Linked DNA regions of Homo sapiens: region 1 is linked to region 2. The links are contacts of gene promoters, found by promoter capture Hi-C in human tissues and cell types (Jung and others, 2019). All regions are on one chromosome and are shown on one strand. Each heading gives the region's core, a stretch centred on a gene start or on the middle of the fragment in contact. The rest is flanking DNA. Distances are from core to core; before and after follow the strand shown. Region 1 overlaps FBXW8 (F-box and WD repeat domain containing 8). Region 2 holds the start of HRK (harakiri, BCL2 interacting protein).

Region 1 (2,904 bases), core at 173-2,672, 40 kb after region 2:
TTTCTTCTGGCTAATATGCAGTGAGACAGCAAACCAAACCAAATGTGTACTCATGAATTGACTTAACTGGAATAACTTCCTTTCCTCTTTCCTGTTCTTTGCCTGCCTTTTAAAGCTCAGCTTGAGTTCTGTCTCCTGTGTTAATTCTTCCGTGATTTCTCCAGCCCAAATTTCTCCCTTTCCCCCAACTAAAAAGTTCTTATCCTCAGTGCTGTTCATTTTTTCATGTTATTCGTGAATTAGCAGGCCTCCACTTACGAACCTTTTGAAATGATGCCTGTGTATACTAGAACAACTTGTGACTTACATGCGGTCTTTGTTGGAACGGTCTGCTGCTTGAAGCAGCTTGGGTTTCATTCATATCCCACAAATATTTATTAAGTGTCTTCTTGGTACCAGCCACTGTTCCAGGCACTGAGAATATAGCATTGAACAAGGCAGAAAAAAGCCTGTGCCCTTGTGTAACTTACATTCTGGGGAAGAGGGAGTTAGACAATGGACAAATAATTGTCAGGTAATAAATAAATGTTCTGGAGAAGAAATAAGCAGACAGGATAGAGTGTATCTGCCAGGGGAGGGGCTGTAATTTTAAATAGTGCTGTCCAACAGGGTCTTTCTGGGAAGGTCACATTTCATGGAGAACCTAAAGGAGGTGAGGAGTGAACATACAGAGATCTGGGGGAGGGGATTCTAGGCCAAGACGGGCAAGTGCAAAGGTTCTGTGGTGACCAGGACCCGCACTTAGTTTAATGCTCTGTTGCCTTGATCATTTGTAATGATCTTAATCATTTGTGACCAACAGGCCCCCCAAATTCTATAGCCAATCCTGATGGTGGGAATGTGCCTGCAGTGTTTGGGACCCTTAATGTGAACATCTTTACTCTTTTCACAAACCCACTGTGGTTTCAAAAACCACACCCACTGTGGTACCCCTCTGGGACCTGAAGCTTCTCCTCTTCCTGTCTTCTCTCCTCGCCATGTCCTAAAGCTCAGATCCCAGTTTAGACTAAAAGGGGGCTCAAAGCAGAGGCCCAGCCCATTTTGCTTCACACCACCCTCCTTCACCACCACACCCAGCCTCCTGGGATTTCCCCCAGCACTTGCATTTCTTTAGATTGGCATCTTCTACCTTCTTTCCTTGCCAGAGTCCCCAGGAGAGTGAGAATATGTCTTGAAGCTGGAAAGCCTATTCTCGTAAAAAAAGGATAAATCAAATTCCATGGACATTTATTGTGCATCTACTGTGTGCAATGCACTGAGCTGGTTAGATTCTATAGTATTATAGTTCACTTATATCACCCGCACATGTGATCAACAAACATTTATTGAATACCTTTTGCTCTTCCTCATAGCTAGGCATGGGGATTAGGTTAAATGTTAAGAGACGAATTGTTTTTTTGTGGACTGCTTGGGAGCTTAGCCGCTCTTTGTAGCATTGTTTGTTTGGAGAAATGTTTTCCAGCTTCTATATGGCTGGCTTACTAATGAACTTTGGAGTACCTTAGGGGACGATCTATATTGCCTGTTGTAGTCTCCTGTATTTCATTTTACGTGACAATGACTTACCTCTATAAAAGATTTTAGCTCTTTGAGTGTAGACCATTTCTTATATACTTGCTAACAGCACCTCCCTCCCCCTAGCACCTGGTGTGGCCCTGAATTTAGATAGTATTTTGAACATAAGTTACCTTACTTTAAAAATGTGTTGCTTTTCTGTGTCTGTGAAAATATCATGTGCTCACTGTAGAAATATTTAGGAAATTCAGAAGAATAGAAGAAAATAAAAGTCTTTAGTAATATAATTGCTTAGAGGCTACCATTGTTAACATTTTGGTGTATTTCTGACTTTTTTTTTTTTTTTTTTTTTTTTAGACAGGCTCTCTCTCGCTTTTGCCTAGGCTGGAGTGCAGTGGTGTGATCATGGCTCTGTAGCCTTGACCTCCCATACTCAAGCTATCCTCCCACCTCAGCCTCCTAAGTAGCTGGAACTACAGGTGCATGCCACCACACCTGGCTCATTTATTTTTATTTTGTCTAGAGACAGTGTCTCACTATGTTACCTGGGCTGGTCTTGAACTCCTGGCCCCTAATGATCTGTCTATCTCAATCACCCAAAGTGTTGGGATTACAGATATGAGCCACTGTGCCTGGCCTATTTCTGACTTTTTTTCTTTTTGTATATAAGAATATATATTTCGAGACAAATTGTGGATTATAAATGGATGCTTATTTATCTCGACTGCCTTTCAGACCTTTTTCCCCCAGCCAACCAGTTTTTTTCTTCTCAAAGAAGACACAGGTGAAACTGAAACTCATCTATTTCTTCTGATTGAGATTGTGTGGGTCTACTCCACTCAGCTTTTGCAGTACATGGAAAGTTGAGATAAACGCCTAAAGAAACTAGTTTCAGTCATAGATTTAGTAAAAATGTTATTGCAAATCTCTTCTTTGAACTCAAGGTGCTTTTCTCAGTTTCTTAAACCACCACCCAGAGAGATCTTTCATGTCCTCTTTGCCCTGGAGATGTACATTGGGAACAAAAACCTTAAGTCAGTTTCTTCACTTTTTACTGCTTTGGCTCTTAGTAATTATCTGTTCTTCTATTAAACAAGAGAAGACAGATTAAATTTCTAACAGTAAGGCACAAAACCAATCCATTTACAGAATTAGTCTTACATTAGCACATAGGAATACAAATCAGCCTCCCTGGGGATGGATCTCTTTGCAATTTCTCTCAGTGTTTTTGGAGTAAGTCCAGTAGACTTTGGGAAAATCTAGTATTCACTGACTTTAAATTAAATAAGTAATATGACCCCTTTGAGTGTGTGTGTGTGTGTTTTTTTTCCCTTGACTAGGAAAAAGGGGATGGATAGATTTTTATATCTGCCTATGATGTATGGTTGT
Region 2 (2,700 bases), core at 64-2,563:
CACTTCCTGTCCTAAGTTCTCAACACATGACCTCCCTAAACAGTGCCCAGCACCCCGAAGGAGCTCAATAAATGTTCCTTCCTTAAGGCTTCCCATTGGAGTTTCCCTGAAAGCCCCCTATTCCAGCCCACTCCGAGGGCGTCTCCTTCCCGTAGCAGCTACAACCGTCTGGGGAGAAGGAAGCCAAACTCCTTAAACAGGACACCTCACTCGAGAAGGAGCGAAGTTGGCAGGGCAGAGGAAAATTGCAAATGCGCGGAGCTTGGGAAGAAAGATTGGGCCAGCCAGAAACCTGGAGGGGGAGGAAGTCTCGAGATGCGCTTGGGGTGCCAGATAATGGGGATCAGAGATTGGAGAAGTGACACTTAGGGACAAGAGGTTGGGAGCAAAGGTGATGGAGACGGGGGCGACTCAGGAACGGCAAGAGGATTGGAACGGGACCGGGGACCTTTCTTGGAAGTGCGATAGATTTTAAGTATTTGGCGTGGCTTACAACTACATTCCCATAGCAAGCACACTTTTTACTTGCATTGTGTGTTTATTTGTGGGGCTGGTGGGGATTATGGAGGCTGAAGTCCTCCGCAAGCCACTGAGCTATAAGTGAGTAGCAAGATGCGCTTAAGGACTCGCAGAGATGGGGGCAGAAACGGTGGACCTTACACTTGGAAGGGAAGACTGGGGACTGGGTAGAAGAGGAGAGGTGGAGATGCTTGCAAGAGAAGAGAACGGAGGAAGAAGGAGAAGGGAAAAGAAGAAAGCCAAACTTGCCACTCTCCCGCTCCCGGGCCAGCCCAGCGTCTCCAGTGCCCAGCTGCCGCGCCCCGGCTCTCGCTCGCTCGCTCGCGTACCTGTTGCTCGCTCCGGCTGGGTCTCGGCTCCGGCCCCACCAAGAAGCCCCGCGTTCCTACAAGTTCCGCCTGCCGAGCAGCCAGGCCGCCAGCGCCGCCACCTGCGCGGCCGCGCACAGCCAAGGCCAGTAGGTGGGGAGCGCGCCGGGCGCCGGCGCCCTCCGGCTCCGCGCGCGGCGCCGCCACATGGTGCGCTGGTGCAGCTCGTCGCCTAGCGCCTTGAGCCGGGCGGCGGTGAGCTGCGCGGCGGACGAGCGCAGCCCCAGGCGACCCGCGCTGCAGGCGCACACGGCCGGGGGGCCGCGGCCGCGGTGCAGGGGGCACGGGCACATGACCGCTGGCCTCGCTCCCGCCCCGCGCTCGGGCCGCCCCTCGCCTCCTCTCCCTCCGGCCTCTGCGCCCGCTGCCGCCGCGCTCCAGCCGCCGGGGGCCTCCCCTGGACACCAAGTTTCTCCTTGTGTTGTGCGTTTGTTGTGCTGACGGCGCTATTATTAATTAAAGTGTCACATGGTGGAGGGGGGCGGGGAGGGGGGTTACATCATCCGGCCCCCGGGGGTTGGGGGGGGGGCTGCAGGCAGAAGAAACCGAGAGGTAACTTTTAACCCTAGCGGCGCCGGCAGCTAGGGAGCGCGAGGTTTGGGAGACGGGGAGCGCGGCGCGGGGCGGCGCGAGAAGGCTCCCCGCAGCGGAGGTCCTGGGCTTTGGGGGTCTCGGGGGACCCCCGCGGAGGCGCGGAGCGCGAGGGAAGGTTGTTCTCCTTCCCCTTTTCCTGAATTCAGCTCGAGTTCCGATTTGGCGAGGGAAAAAGGCTTGTTTGCCGTTTTGGATGAAGCTGATGCTGAATTCGGCTGCATTATTCAAAAATATTCCGAGGCTGTTGTTTTGTTTGGGGGAGGTGGGTGGATTCAAAATCTTATGGAAGGGTCAGATTACACCCAACTTGCCTCGTTTCAGGTCTGACTTGGCACCTGTAGGCTTTCAGCCTGACCCTAACGTGCCCCCAGCGCCTGGCTAGAAACCTGACCCTAAAGTGCCCCCAGCGCCCGGTGGGAGGCTGGATGGGCCCACCTGAGCTCGCGTGGGGCGCGGACGGAGGCATTCTCGCTGCCCGGCACCCGCACCCAAAAGACCCTCGCAAGGGGCTTTCTAAAGGGAAACTTCTTGTCTGCTTTCTTTGTGAACATTATTTTCCTGATGGCGTTACAGTTTTCTGCGATGACCCCGATTTAATGCGCAGTGGAGACCCTAAGGGGTCGGCGAGAGGAGGGGCGCGGGGGACTTTAATTCCCCCTTTTCCAATCCGACAGCCACTCCTGTGCACCTCCAGACTGGAGCGTCTGCAGTTGTCACAAACGGTGAAGGTTCAGATGGGCTGGGCGGCTGTCAGGATTCTGTGGGGGAGAATGAAACCTGTGATCTTAAATCGACTGGGATTCAGACAACTTTGGGATTCAGACCATCGGGATGAGTCCAGAGATGGCTCCAAGTTGGGAGTCTGGAACCTGCTGAGGGAGCTTCCGTTCTTGCCTTCCCACCGCAGAGTATAACCAAGATTCTTCGAGTCTGTGAACTTAGTTTTGGTCTGAATTGATCAGGAGGAGAAATGTCCCTTTTGGCCCACAGCGTGGTGAAATGACAACAAAGTCAGGGCTCAAAGCCCACAACACTGTGTGATTCTGGTGGCCTTTTCCCTCACCCAGCTCCAATTATTCTAGGCTTCATAATGGCCAAGACCTACTGCGCATCTTCTATGTCTGGCACCTGTGGGCTTTGGGCGCCCTTGCCTCTGCTGCCTAAAGGTAAATCTCCCAACAATTCTACATGCAATTACTATAATATTTCAAAGATGAGG

What was found. The method cuts DNA at HindIII sites, captures the fragments that hold promoters and counts their contacts. A contact is called where the count stands out against the background at its distance.
Region 1: a fragment that was not itself captured here is called in contact with the fragment with the promoter of HRK in region 2 in 1 of the 25 tissues and cell types used here (spleen).

What each region holds. Positions count from the first base shown.
Region 1 is chr12:116,919,977-116,922,880 of GRCh38, forward strand. The region is part of intron 1 of FBXW8 (F-box and WD repeat domain containing 8); the gene reads left to right. Among named protein-coding and RNA genes, the nearest start is that of FBXW8, 10 kb to the left of the region's middle. The HindIII fragment of the contact is 5,174 bases long and covers 1-2,904 here.
Region 2 is chr12:116,880,128-116,882,827 of GRCh38, forward strand. HRK (harakiri, BCL2 interacting protein) reads right to left here and starts at 1,314. Exons shown (of 2, transcript NM_003806.4): 1 at 849-1,314. The coding sequence starts at 1,180. The coding sequence ends at 905. RefSeq lists silencers at 1-43, 922-1,001 and an enhancer at 1,507-2,468. The HindIII fragment of the contact is 18,466 bases long and covers 1-2,700 here.